2 separate regions of the Homo sapiens genome follow, and region 1 is linked to region 2. The links are contacts of gene promoters, found by promoter capture Hi-C in human tissues and cell types (Jung and others, 2019). All regions are on one chromosome and are shown on one strand. Each heading gives the region's core, a stretch centred on a gene start or on the middle of the fragment in contact. The rest is flanking DNA. Distances are from core to core; before and after follow the strand shown. Region 1 has its middle 180 kb from the start of PRDM2. Region 2 holds the start of LRRC38 (leucine rich repeat containing 38).

Region 1 (7,180 bases), core at 2,902-5,401, 370 kb before region 2:
TATACCAATATTTCATTTCTTTTAATGACTGAATAATATTTCATTGTATGACTATACCACATTTTGTTTATCCATTCATCTGTTGATAGACATTGGGCTGTTGCCACATTTTGGCTATTATGAATAATGCCATTATAACCATTTGTGTATAATTTTTGGTGTGGGCATTTATTTTTATTTATCTCGGGTATAGATCAAGGACTAGAATTGCTGGGTCATATGGTAACTATGTTTAATGCTCTGAGGAACTGCCAGAGTGTTTTCCTGTGGCTTTATTATTTTACATTCCCACCAGCTGTGTATGAGGGCTCTAACGTCCTGATGCAGAGCTAAGTCCTATTATTCCAGTAACCTTAAAAATGGCAGATGCTGAAATAGTAATTGGCTCAAAAGGAGCTTCATTAGATTTCTAAACAGACTTATTTATAAAGTTAGCCCTTTCTTTGACTAGAGAAATCACTGATTAATAGATCCAGGTCAGAAAGAGCTAACATTGTCTTTTATTCTGTCACAACAGAACCTATAGGAGTGAACATAATGTTTCTCTGGAGGAATATCATTATCATCACTCATCATCATTATCCCTAGGTCTTAAATTATTTTTATAATTTCATAAATACTGTCTAGCACTGAATTTAAAATAACAAGGTATCTACTTTTCTTCCTTCCTTCCTGAATAATTCAACTCAATGCAAAACACTGGGCAAGAGAGGTAGAAATCCTTGCCAAAGGAGTAGGTGGTGGAGCCCAATACTAAGTCAGAACCCAAGCAAGATAAAGGGGCATTTGTTAGACAAATGTGATAATCACTGCACTGCAGAAACTTACAACATCTGTGAAGTAAGGAGGGATGACAGAAATCCCTTAGGGTCAGAGCCCAAGTAAGATGAGTAAAGGCATTCACACAAGAAGCAGCAACAGCAATAGGAGATTGGTTACACAGGATGAGATTGGGCAAATAAGTAAACATACTGAGGATAATGGGAGCCAGGTCTCACTGTTAGAGACAAGGGAAAGCTAGAATGAAATCTGTGATGCTGAATAGAAATTATAAACATTGGTATAAGCTCTTGGTTTTTAATCTATATATAGTCACATAAATAAATCTAGATTTAGATGTATGTGTGTATCCATCAGAATATACATACTATATTCCCTAATTCTGTCCACTGAGAGGGCCTGGGAACAGAGATACCCCAATAGCAATGAGCTATCCTAAAAACAAGATCTATGCTCTAAATATCATTCCTCTGCTACAAGGAACCAGAGCTGATTGGTCCAGGGCTGGTGCATGAAAAACACAAAGATATCTTGACATGTTGTTTAGCCAGAAAGCAAGGAACTTCTCCAAGATGGATGGAGACATTCCAAAAACACACAGTAGCCAGCTTGAAGAAACCCTCACTGGCCAAATCAAGAATAATTTTTATATAAAAGTGATGATAATGAATTAGAACTCATTGAATAGAAATCTATATGTCCATATGGATAGATGGATGGATGGATGGATGGATGGATGGATGGATACATAAATATATCCACAAATAAATGCATAGAGAGATAGAAGAAAAAGTTCTTCTTTATAGTCAAATGCCAACCAATAGATGCACAAAATGATGGACTTGGAAAATTGCCATTTGACAGCCTCTCATAGTTATAATTCAGGCAGGAAATGTCAACGAATGCTAAATCTAGTGGGTGAAAGCTTGATGAGAAACAGTAAACTTACAGCTTCAAACTCTGTCCCCATAAAATCTTTATTAATCACAAAAAGTAAAAGGAGTGACTTTACAGTGGGCAAACCTGGAAGACACTATCTTAATCAAAGTTAGTTAACAAAGTTAACATCATTAGTCATAGGATAAATCAAAACCATGTACCACCTAAAATGATGCAATAAGAAAACTCAGCATCACTTCTGCAGTATTCCTGACAACAATCTATTACTCGCAACGAATCAGGAAAACGTTTTATAAACCCACACTGAAGAACAGCCTACAAAATAACTGTCCTATAATTTTTTAAAGTGGCGAGTTCATAAAAGTTAAGGGAAATCTGAGGAACTGTTCCAAATAGAAAGCAAGTAAAGAGGCAACCGGACTAAACGCAGCCTGTGATCCTGAATTGTTCCAATAAAACTTGAATGGAGCTTGCAAATTAGAGTAGTGATGGATCAATGTTAATTCCTTGAATTTCATAGTTGTGCTGTGGTTAGTAGGAGAATGTCCTTGATGTGTAGGAAACACACACTAAAACATTTGGGAATGATGGAGCATCATGTCTACAGCAGACTCTCAAATGACTTGTGGGAGAAATGTTTACTATACTATTCTTTCAGTTTTCCTACAGTTTAAGAAAAACAATTAGTTGGACAAAGACAACATGGTCAAAAGGCAAGAGAAACAGACAACAAAAAGAAAACCACCAGGCCAGGCACAGTGGCTCACGCTTGTAATCCCAACACCTTGGGAGGCTGAGGTGGGCGGATTGCTGGAGCTCAGGAGTTCAACACCAGCCTGGGCAATAAGGTGAGATACTGTCTCTACAAAAAATACAAAAATTAGCTGGACATGGTGGTGCACACCTGTAGTCCCAGCTACTGGGGAGGCTGAGGTGGGAGGATAGCTTGAGCCTGAGAGGCAGAGATTGTAGGGAGCCAAGATCACACCACTGCACTCCAAGCCTGGGCAACAGAGCAAGACCCTATCAAGAAAAGAAAAAGAAGAAGAAGGAAGGGAGGGAGGGAGGCAGGGAGGGAGGGAGGGAGGAAGGAAAGAAGGAAGGAAGAAAGGATGGAATGAAGGAAGGAAGGAAGGAGAAGGAAGAAAGGGAGGGAAGGCAGGAAGGAAGGACCACTAGCAATCCAGATATCAGACACAGTCCACAATAAGTTTGCTTAACATGGTTAGGGAAATGGAGCAAGGTACAGGATTTGGGGGAAAAAACTATAAAAATTTACCAAATCGATATTAGACACAGGTGGAAAGAATTAGTGAAATGGTAGATCAGTCAGAAGAAAGTCAGAGTGAAGCACAGACAACAGGATAGGAAAGATAGAGGAAAGGACGAGACATAGGGATTCAGTTAAAAGGTCTGACATGGGTTTAACTGTCATCCCAGAAAGGGAGGACAAATAAGAAAGAGAGGATGAAGAAAAGAAGTAGGAGAAAAGGAGTAGAAGCAATATCAGGAGAAACTGTTAATACCTCGGATGGTGAATTGTATGTGTCAACATGACAGGGTTAAGACTATACAATTCAGCAGGTCCCTTTCTGGCAGGGTTGGCAGGGACGTCAGGAGTGAACACGCATTGTGAACCTGGCACATGGGTGACAGGATATGATGCTTCTGCAAACTCAGCTGACCCTTAAAACATGCTCCATCCAGAGCATCTGCAAGGATGAAGGGGCAATGGGACAGACTCTAGGCAGTATCCGTGCCCTTCAAAAAAGAAAGGACCCAAAACTCAACCCCTTTCAGGAGTCAGATCAAATCTCCTCTTGCAAGAAGCTTTTGAAGGGGTTAAAGGATACTCAGATAGCTGGTTACTTCTGGGTGTGTTGGTGAGGGTGGTTCTGGAAGAGGTCAGTGTCTGCATCAGCAACTGAGTAAAGAAGGTCCACCCTCACCTATGTTGGGTGAACATCATCCAATATGTTGAGGCCTGAATAGAACAAAAAAAAGAGAGAGGAAAGTAAACTCCCTCTCTCTGTGTCTTCTTGAGGAGCTGGGGCATTCATCTTTGCCTTCTCTTGGAGACTGGGGCTCCTGGTTCTTGGGCCTTCAGACTCCAGGACTTACACTAGCAGCCCCCACCGCAGTTCTCAGGCCTTCAACCTTGGACTGGGATATAACATTAGCTCCCCTTGTCCTCAGGCCTTTGGACTCAGACGGAATGACACCGCCAGCTTTCCTGGGTCTTCAGCTTGCAGACAGCAGATCATGGGGCTACTCGGCTTCTGTAATCATGCAAACCAAGACCCATAATCAATCTCCTCTTCTATGTCTATATATATCCGATTGGCGCTGTTTTTCTGAAGAACCTTGATCAATACAGCTTTGCAACTGTGTAAATTAACACTTAAAAAGCTCAATGAACCCTAAATAGGATAAATAAAAAGAAAATCATACCTAGGCTTATCATAGTAATAAGCTGAAAACCAATAACAGAGAAAGTCTTAAAAGCAGCTGTAGAAGTCAGGATGAGGAGAAAACAAAGAACTTTCAGTACAACAACAGAGACCCACATCTGACTTCAACGCCAACTAGGGAAACCAGAAGTCAGTGAATGAGACCTTCAAAGTGCTCAAAGAGAATAATTGCCATGTGGAACTCTATATGCATTGAAAATATCCTTCAATAATGTAGGTGAAATAAAGAAATTTTCAGACCAAAGAAATCTAGGAAAATTTAATACCAGCAGACACATCAAGAAGACACTAAAGGGAGTTTCTTCAAGGAGGAGAAAAATGAAGCCAAGTGGAAGCTCAGAGCCATGGAAACGAACAAAGAGCTGTGAAAAGGTTAATTGTGGCTAAGTCTAAATTAAATATAACTTAATGTTGACTATGAATTCATAATTACTAATGGTTAACATTAATTTATCTTATATTAACAGGTCAGTGATACACTGTAGGATTTAAAGTATATATAGAAATAAAATACAGAGCAAAAATAGCTTAGAAGTTGAAAGAAGAACAATGGAATTAAAATGTTCTAAGGTCCTTGCATTGTCCAGGGAAAAATAGAAGGATTAATTTATATTAGACATTAATAAGTCGAGGATACATACTACAATCTCTTGTATAACCACTGAAAGTTTATAAAAGCGTACAAAATCACCATACTAATAGGAAGGGAAAATGAGTATAAAAATAATCAATCCAAAAGATATCAGGAAAGGAGAGAAAAAAGAATTGTAAAGAAAGCTAGTATACTATGTTGCTATCAGACAAAGTAGACTTAAAAATTAAAAAAAAAAAAACCCAGTTCTAGCAATCAAAAACATCCTTCATAATAACAAAATGATCAATTTAACAAGCCTCCAAACATGAGCAAAAAATTGACAAACTGCAAAAAACTAAACCCAGAAGTGAAAAACTAAACAAAAAGCAAGCAATACAGAAAAATTGAACACAATTAACATATTGACTAACAGACATATATAATGGATCAGTTGTGCCTGACAAGTACAGCGTATACATTCTCTTCAGAAAAAAAAAAAAAACACAGAGAACATTACAAAAATTGTCCCTTTGCCAAACCTTAATTCACATCTCAAAAAGTGTCATAAGAATAAAGAGAATTTTTTTAATCTGATAAATAATTTGTATTAAAAAGCCTACAGAAAACATCCTTCACAACATTCATGAAATATTGAAAGCTTCCTCTTAAGATGAGGAATGAGACAAGAATGGCCACTATCATCATTTCTATACAACATTATACTGGAAGTAAAAGAGACAAGATTTGAGGTTTGAAATAGAAAAATAGAATTGTCACTATTTGCAGTTGGCATGATTGTGGTAGAAAATCCCAAAAGAAAAGTATACAGATAAATTATTAGAATAAACTTAGCAATGTTGCTACATAAGCATAAGGTACACGTTAAAATGTAAATTATATTACTGGATGTGGAACAAAATAAACTTTAAGAAACTATAACATTAACATCAAAATATATCAAATAACAAGGAATAAATCTAACAAAAAGCCCTTAAGACCACTCTACAGAAATCTATGAGACGGGCAGAAAGGAAAGGAACCTAAACAAATGAAGACATGCACCACTGAGTCATAGTTTGATGACTCAATGTTGTAAAAACTTCAATTCTCCCAAATTAATCTACACATTTAATCAGATCAAAATTTAAGCAGATTTTCTGTAAACATTGACAAGATGATTCTAGAATTTAACTGGAAAGGCAAAGGGCCAAAAGCTCTTGGTGAAGGCCACCAGAAATGAAGACTTGTTCCACCAGATGCTCCAGACAGATAATTAAGCTTCAGTAGTTAGGAGAGCATGGTATTGGGCTAAGAATACACAGAGAGATCAATAATGAGAATAAAGTGTCCAGAAGCTGACTCACTATTGCATTAGGACAACACCATCACTGCAGGGCAGCGGAGATGCTTAATGGCGGTCAATCAAGTGGAAATTCATATGGAGAAAAAAAGTGAAAGTTGACCTCCACTTTACACCATAGATGGAAGTGAGTTACATGCAGATTGTAGATTTCAATGTGAAATCAAAACAAAACTTTTTTTTTTTTCCCCAGACGGAGTCTTGCTCTGTCACCCAGGCTTGGAGTGCAGTGGTGCGATCTCGGCTCACTGCAAACTCCGCCTCCTGGGTTCAAGTGATTCTCCTGCCTCAGCCTCCCGAGTAGCTGGGATTACAGTCGCCCGCCACCACGCCCAACTAATTTTGTATTTTTAGTAGAGACGGGGTTTCACTGTGTTGGCCAGGCTGGTCTTGAACTCCTGACCTCAAGTGATCCACCCACCTCAGCCTCCCAAAGTGCCGGGATTACGGGTGTGAGCCACCACACCCAGGCAAAACAAAACTTCTTGACAGTGATAGAGAATACCTCTATGGCTCTGGTAACGGTGGGCGGGCAATACTTCTTAAACGAGACACAAAAAGCACCAACCATTAGGGAAAAGATTGATAAATTAGATATCAAAGTTAAGAACTTCTCCCATTTCTGTGACTAGTCTTTCTACTCTCTTATTATTGTCTCTTGATGAAAGAAAGAAATGTGTAACACCTATAACCAAGAAAAGATTCATATTCTCATTATAGAAAGAACTCCCCCAAATCAATAAGGCAAAAAACTCAGTTAAAACATAGACAGGAATGGATGCAGTGGCTCACGCCTGTAATCCTAGCACTTTGGGAGGCCGAGGCAGGAGGATTGCTTGAGTCCAGGAGTTCGAGGCCAGCCTACACAACACGGTGAAACCCTGTCTCTATAAAAAATACAAAAATTTGCCAGGCATATTGGTGCGCGCCTGTGGTCCCAGCTACTCAGGAGGCTGAAGTGGGAGGATGGCTTGAGCCCAGGAGGCTAAAGTTGCAGTGAGCCGAGATTGCACCACTGCACTCCATCCTAAGCAACAGAGCCAGACCCTGTCTTAAAAAACAAACAAACAAACAAACAAACAAAAAAACAAAAGT
Region 2 (7,184 bases), core at 2,296-4,795:
TGAAAGATTCATTTCCTGCTTCCAGAGGCAAAACTAGGGGCGGGAGTTTTTCTTCTAAAACGTGGGGTCCAGCCTTGCTCCAGAGAGTAAACTGCGTTGAGAGAAGCGCTCAGTTTTGAGCAGTGCGAGCCGCAGGTGGTGCTCCCTAGCGGTGGTAGCTAAAAAGGGCAGCGGCCGTGGGACGGGAACATGGAGCTGCTGTTGCAGCCAGTTAACGGGCTGGTGACAAAGTCGCAATTGTGTCTGTGGAGCAGGGAGCCTGTTCCATCGAGGCAGGCTGCCCCAAGTAAAAGGCTAGAGAGTGTCTCCTTTCCTGGGGCCCATGAGATGTCCTCACGCTCCCTGGCCAGGCCAGTCAGGTGCTGATCAGAGGTGAAATACGCCAGTAACGCAAATGACATCACCAGACACCAGCCATACTCTTATTCAAACCTAGCATTTGCACCTAAATTCAACTTCTGCACATAAAATACTGGCAGCATCTTGTTTACGACTTAAGGCATAGGATTTTGGCTAATTTAGATGTCAGTCTGGTGAACAAAGGGGGATATTCTTCTTATTGAATTTTTCTTGCTTACAGCAACCTGGCATCGCGTGGTGGGTTTCCTGGGGACCGCCTTGCACATAGCTTCCCAAGGCCCAACCTCATGGGAAATTGGACAGGGATGGAGAGTGAGACATGACGTGCTCTGTAGTTCGGAGAACACAGGGAGGAGTGAGGATTCCGCTGGGGGTGGGGGATGGGGAAGGCATGACGTCAGGTGTTTAAATCATAGGGATACCTTGGGTATTTGCCACGCTCCTGCTTTGAGCCTTTTGAATAGGAATTACAAAGTGTGCAGACTCTGAGAATACATACGGAGACAGAGCTGACAAGTGGAATCTCTCAACGTTCCTCCCTGTTACCTGCAATGTTTGTTACCTGCAATGTTTGCCCTCAAGGGTAAGAGATTCCCTTCCTGGAGAGGGGGTGAGTGGGTGAATTGGTGAATGGTGCAGGTGGGGACTCAGAATGCCTGTGTTCTATTTCTAGCGCCTATCACTGACTCATATTGTGACCTTGCTGAGGTCATGGCTCTGTTTTATTTGTTGGGGGAAAAATTTAGAGGTGGCAAAGCTTGTATTTCCCCCAAGGGATGGGAGCTCTGGAATCTGAGATACCTCCCTGCTCCCTACAAAGCCCAACCATGTCTAGTTCTGCTGATATTAATGAAAAGAATGCTTACATTTGGATCCAAGGAACTTTGGGGGACACTCGAGGAAACAAATTGTTCCTGCCATCGCAAGATTTGTGGCCACTTTTATTGGCAATATTTCTCCAAAGACCTTTCAAATCATGTTCCCATACAAATACTTCCCCATGCGGCCCTCACGTTGTCTGTGGAAAGGAAGAAGAAAGGTATTTTTTCATTAGTTTCAGGATGAGGAAATCAAGGCTAGGAGTGGTATTTCTCAATAGGTTTGTTACCAAGAGCCCCTCTTAATATTTTAGTACCATGCATTCCCCTGTTTTGCAAGTCCTTGTCAACTAAATACTTGCATTTATTCAGTAGAAATTCATCTCTGTTTTTCTTAAAGTCACCTATGAATGCCGGTTCTGCACAAAAGGACTAGTGCTACCATTAAGTTCACTGGCAAGAATTGCAGTATTTAATCCGGGAGACCTCCTCAAAGATAAAGGCCTAATTTTCACCAGACTTTTTTAAATTTTGAAAAGACCTCCTCTTCATAGTATCTGGGGACCCAGGCTAAGAAGTCCCCAGAGAGATCAAGTGGCTTGTGAAAGATTCTGTGGCTAGTGGTGGGGCCAGGACCAGACCCAGGGTCTTGATTCATATAGGTCAGTGCTCCAGCCAACCAGACCACTTGGCAGGGAGGGCTTGTGTACACACCCAGACATACAGACACGCGGGCATGCACGTGCAAGATGGCAGCCCAACCAAATGCGGGTGTCATGAAACCATGATGCTAAGGGCTCAAACCAGTAATAGGTTCCCCTCAGTACAGGAGGGAGCAGGCAGAACCAAGCCTGAGATTGGCAGAGTGCAACAGTTCGGTTCAGGCTGCTTTTGCAGAGTTGCAAGGGTGGGAGATGTGTTTATTCTGCCACCTGCCTGCACTTTGTGTGACTCTTCAATAATTTATACATCATTTATGTAGGCAGAAGCATTTTCATCCACTCTGGGAGCATTCAGACCACTCCTCCCGACACCTGCCTCTTCAAGAGCATGAGACTGGGGTGGGGAAGCTGAGCCCTTGAAGTTGGGGATGGCAATGGCAAATTGGGCACCCTGGGAGAGTGGAGACAGAGACGGAGAACTGAGGGAGGTCTGGCTTAGTGGCCTGGAATGTAAGTAGGGGAAAAGCTGCAGGACTCCAGGTGCCTCAAAGCTTCCCCCTGGGTCTCCCCCGCCTCTTCCCCAGGGCTCCTGCAAATATGCTCATCTGTTGAGCCCTTGGCTCCATCCCAGGGGATCAGTTTTTTCATCCCATGGCTCAGAGGCATCAAGTCGGCCTGTACCTTTGGAAGAAGGCCGAGGGCTTAGCTTTATGGCTTCAGAATCCGAGGCTCCACCAATCCCCAGCATGGCCAGGGGCCAGGGAAGGGTCTCTGGGAGCCTGCTGCCCAACAGCTGTTCCCTGGGTTATTTTGGTCTAGTGGGAGTCTGTCAATTCTAGGGCATTTGGACCAAAATAGCCAACAGCGGGACAATCTCTTGGTAGCTCTGTGGGGACCCCTCCCCATATAGAAGTTTCTAGAATGAGGTGGGACAGAAAGAAAGGAGTTTGGCATCGGGGTGGTGAAGAGGGAATTTTCCTGCCAGTGTCAGAGGCTGACATCAGCATTTCCTCACTGTCCTTTCATCTCAGCCTTGGCACGTTCCTGACTGCCTCCCTAGGCTATCCAAGGTGGGGTTTTGAGGGGGAGAGAGGAAAAGATAATTTTTGAACTTTGTTCTTGACTTCTTGGTCCTCCCCCAAAGCTGATGAGATATATATTACCTTTTTCCATTTCACAAATGGAGCTACCAGGTCCACAGAGGCAGAGGTACTGGTCTGAGGCCACACAGCTTGGAAGCCAGGCCTGGTGACTCCAGGCCTCAGAGCCTCAGCAGCTGGACCTCTCAGACCAGCAGCTGATCCTTGCATGGATGCCAGTTCCATCCAGAAGTTCGGGGCCGGCATGGAAAGTGCTGACTGGCCCTGCAGGCCACAGCGGGGGCCCTGGCAGCCACTTGCCTCGCTCACCCTCCAGCCTAAGATGGTTCAAGTGCAGGTGGGGGAGGGAAGAGGGAAGACCAGTCACTCACTCTCTCCCCTTGGAACCCCGCCCAAATTCAGACCAGCAGACCCTGGCGCGGCACCCGAGAACCTGCAGGGATTGCCCCCGGAGCAGAGTCAGAGTGACCCAGGTCCCACTCCCTTTGGCGACATAGGGTGGCGTGCAGGGAGCGTGCTTTGGCACCAGGCGGGCGCGAGGGGGCAGGGCGCACGCCCGGGACACGCCTTAGGGAAACCGCTCCTGGGCTTGGTAGCTGAACTTAGACGTCGAGTGCAGCCCGCCCGGTGCGCGCGGCGTCTTACTGCCAGATCTCGGAAATCAGCTGCCAGGGTGGGGCCGCGTTTTGGCGACGGCCACTCGGCCACCCCTGCCGCTCCCGCCTCTCCCAAGAGATTTTTCTAGCGGGTTAATTTCCTGTCCGGGTAAACCCTTTGGTGAGTCCCTCGCCCCTCCCTCCCCGCCCCTCCCCTCTCCATCCCTGCTGTCCCGGCTCCCCAGTCCGTCCGCGCCGCGCTCCATCGCCCCCGCACGCCCGGGCGCACGCCCTCCCCGCCCGGGCCGCCCTCTGGCTCCCCGCGCCCGGCAGCCAGTGCCTCACCGCGCCGTCCCGCGCCAGGGCTCGCTCCGAGAGCCGCTTCCTTCTCGCCGCGGCCGGCGCGGGCCCCCCGGCCATGCGCCCCCGAGCCCCAGCCTGCGCCGCCGCGGCGCTCGGGCTCTGCAGCCTTCTGCTGCTGCTCGCGCCCGGGCACGCGTGCCCCGCGGGCTGCGCCTGCACCGACCCGCACACCGTGGACTGCCGCGACCGCGGGCTGCCCAGCGTGCCAGACCCTTTCCCCCTGGACGTGCGCAAGCTGCTGGTGGCCGGCAACCGCATCCAGCGGATCCCCGAGGACTTCTTCATCTTCTACGGCGACCTGGTCTACCTGGACTTCAGGAACAACTCGCTGCGCTCGCTGGAGGAGGGCACGTTCAGCGGCTCGGCCAAGCTCGTGTTCCTCGACCTCAGCTACAACAACTTGACCCAGCTGGGCGCCGGCGCCTTCCGCTCGGCCGGGAGGCTGGTGAAGCTTAGCCTGGCTAACAACAACCTGGTGGGCGTGCACGAGGACGCCTTCGAGACCCTGGAGTCGCTGCAGGTGCTGGAGCTCAACGACAACAACCTGCGCAGCCTCAGCGTGGCCGCCCTGGCCGCGCTGCCCGCGCTGCGCTCCCTGCGTCTGGACGGGAACCCCTGGCTGTGCGACTGTGACTTCGCCCACCTCTTCTCCTGGATCCAGGAGAACGCATCCAAACTGCCCAAAGGTGAGCCGAGCCGGCTAGGCTGGGGGAGGGAGGGAGGGGGGCAGGGAGAGGCCACCCCAGACCCCAGTCTGGGTGGGAGGAGCCGTGGGTTGAGTTTGGAAGAGGAGGCTTGGGGGATCCTGAACTTTTCCTGGGTCTCTGCTGGGGAAGTGGGTGGAGAGGGACGCATCTGGAATTCTTTGGAGTTTCTGAACCCTGAGGCTGTACTTCTTCCCCTGTTTCTCCAGTAACTCACTTTACCAAGTTAGGGACCTTCCCCTTCTCGGGATGCCCAGGATCATCTCCCTGGGCTTTGGGTCCTAGGACTGGCGGGTGTGGATTACTTATGCGTCCCTGGTAAGCGGAATGCAGCCTACTCTATGGGAAACGGCCGTATTCTCAGTACCGTGCACGGGGAGTCAGCCAGTTCCAAGGGCTCTCCAGCAGCTTCCCGAGCCTAACCTGGCCTCTCAGCTTCTCAGCTCCAGTTTGCTCTTCTGTCTAATATGGGTGAGGAAGATTTCTGATGTGGAATAATGGCAGCCCATTAAGAGCCAATGATGCAGTAATGATTTGTAGTTCTCTGTGGCTTTTCAGCCAGATGTGAAAAAGCTGAACCAAAATGTAGAGGGCTGGTGCCCCCTTTGCTTTCCTGGTGCACGCTTCCAATGGCGGCGTGGGCATAAAAACTCACTTGGCAGATGGGAACACCAGGGCGGAGGGAGTTAAGGGGCTCCATTAAGGCCCGCAGGAAGGGAGCACGGGTGGAGCTGAGAAGGAGGGGACCCCAGCATCCACAGGGATGAGCACCCAGAGTGAGGAGGCAGGTGGCAGGTGGGTGTCCTTCCCCCAAGTGGATTCCAGCCTCCCACTTGTGACCCTGTGAGCACCAGTGCCCGCAGTGACCTCTCAGAGCTGAACTCTGCCTCCTGCCTTGCTCCCAAGATTTCAGCAGAATTGGGACCACAGCTGCAAGGCGCACATCATCAAAGGTGACATACATGCAGATTTAGCTTCAGAATATTTTTTTTTCCATTTACGGAGAAATCAAGGATGCTGTTCATCTGTGTGCTGAACTCCTGCATTCATATCTTCATTCCCAACTGTCATCAAACACACCCCATGCTTCGGGGTGCTCACTCTTCAGCAAATGCAGGCCCCTGAGCCATCACTTTCAGCCCAGGCTGGCTGAAATTCCTAAAACGATCTGGCCTGCAGGGTGCAGAGTCCCCACCTTTAAACTTTGTCCTCATCCACTTGTCTGGTTTCCCAGACCCTGCCCACCAGTAGACTCGGTCCTGGAGACAGGAGTGACCGGATGAAAAGCTCATGGTGGGATGGGGTACACCTCGGTTCTGCTTGCTTCTGCCTTTCCTTTTCAGTGGGGTTGGCACCATTCACCCCTGTTGTTGGTTGGGTTGGTTTATTGGCTCCAGTTGTCTTCCAGGTGAAGGCAAGGTTTTATGAAGTCAGGAGCTGTGGGTTTGTCTCAGTTCTGCCATGGTGACTGTGACCTTGAACAGGCCACTTGTCCCATTTGGGCCTCAGTTTCCTCATCTCTAGAATTCTTGCGTTGACCTCTGAGATCTCCAAAGAGCCCTGGATTTGGAATCTGAAGACATGGATTTAAGTCCTGGCCTAAAATCTGGGGGACTCTGGGTGGGTCACTCCAGTTTTTTAAGCTTCACCTTTCCCTTGAGTGAAATCAAGACATGGGTAATGCTGCATAGTCCATCCCACCCAGTGGTTGTCGAGATCCAAACAAGGTGATGTGAGTGAAAGTAACGAGCAATGGAAGTGAAATGTTCCTCCTCCTGCTGTCTGTGATGTGGGGAAGAAACTGGACTCAGATAGGAAAGACGGGAGGAAGGATGGACAGGTTCAGAGCAAGGAGCCATGTCCAGAGCCCTGGGAACAGGGTTTGGGGGTATGGCTTTGTCTCAGCCAGTAGGGAGAGGACGGACACAGCTCCAGGGCACCTCACAGGGTGCAGTGCCATGAGCAGCTCTGGTCTCACTGCCACTGTCCATGCTGTGTGGCCCGAGAGTATCTCCTAAACTGTAAGCCACATGCAGGGTGGGTGGTGGAGGTTCCAGCAGTTACCTTGAAGTGAGACCCGCATTCAGGTTTGGACTCAGGTTTATAATCTTAGGCAAGTCCCTGACCTCTCCAAGCCTCAGTTTCTTTGCATCTGGATTCAGAATGTGGTAATGGTGTCCTCTGCCGTGCTTGCTGTGAGATTTAAATGAGATTATCTCTGTAAAGAACACCGTCTTGCTTGGCGTGTGGTAGGTGCTCAACAGGTGTTCCCCGCCCCCTCCCTCCTCCTCCTGCATTTGTGCTTTTTCTACTTTTCACAGAGACAGCTCAGAGCCCAGACTGGCACCAAGCTGCTTGCCTTCAAATCCTGCCTCTACTTCTTACTGATTGTGTGATCTTTTTGTACCCGTTTCCTCATCTGTAAAATGGGGCTGATACAGTATCCACCTTCTAGGCTTGTTAGGAGGATTAAAAGGGCATTATTTATAAAGGACCGAGAACAGTGCCTGGCTCACAGTATATACTATGTAAGTGTTTTAATTGGCGCTGTTGTTATTATCCTGTTTTGACTAGAGAAGCG

Evidence for each region. Contacts are between HindIII fragments. The study calls those that stand out against the background at their distance.
Region 1: a contact is called between a fragment that was not itself captured here and the fragment with the promoter of LRRC38 in region 2, in 1 of the 25 tissues and cell types used here (lymphoblastoid cells).

What each region holds. Positions count from the first base shown.
Region 1 is chr1:13,880,491-13,887,670 of GRCh38, reverse strand. No RefSeq gene overlaps it. Among named protein-coding and RNA genes, the nearest start is that of PRDM2, 180 kb to the right of the region's middle. The HindIII fragment of the contact is 3,085 bases long and covers 2,609-5,693 here.
Region 2 is chr1:13,510,364-13,517,547 of GRCh38, reverse strand. LRRC38 (leucine rich repeat containing 38) reads left to right here and starts at 3,545. Exons shown (of 2, transcript NM_001010847.2): 1 at 3,545-4,585. The coding sequence starts at 3,955. It overlaps LOC107984918 (a long non-coding RNA gene), which reads right to left and starts at 4,328. Exons shown (of 3, transcript XR_001737896.2): 1 at 4,207-4,328; 2 at 3,004-3,257; 3 at 1,284-1,378. The HindIII fragment of the contact is 3,544 bases long and covers 1,755-5,298 here.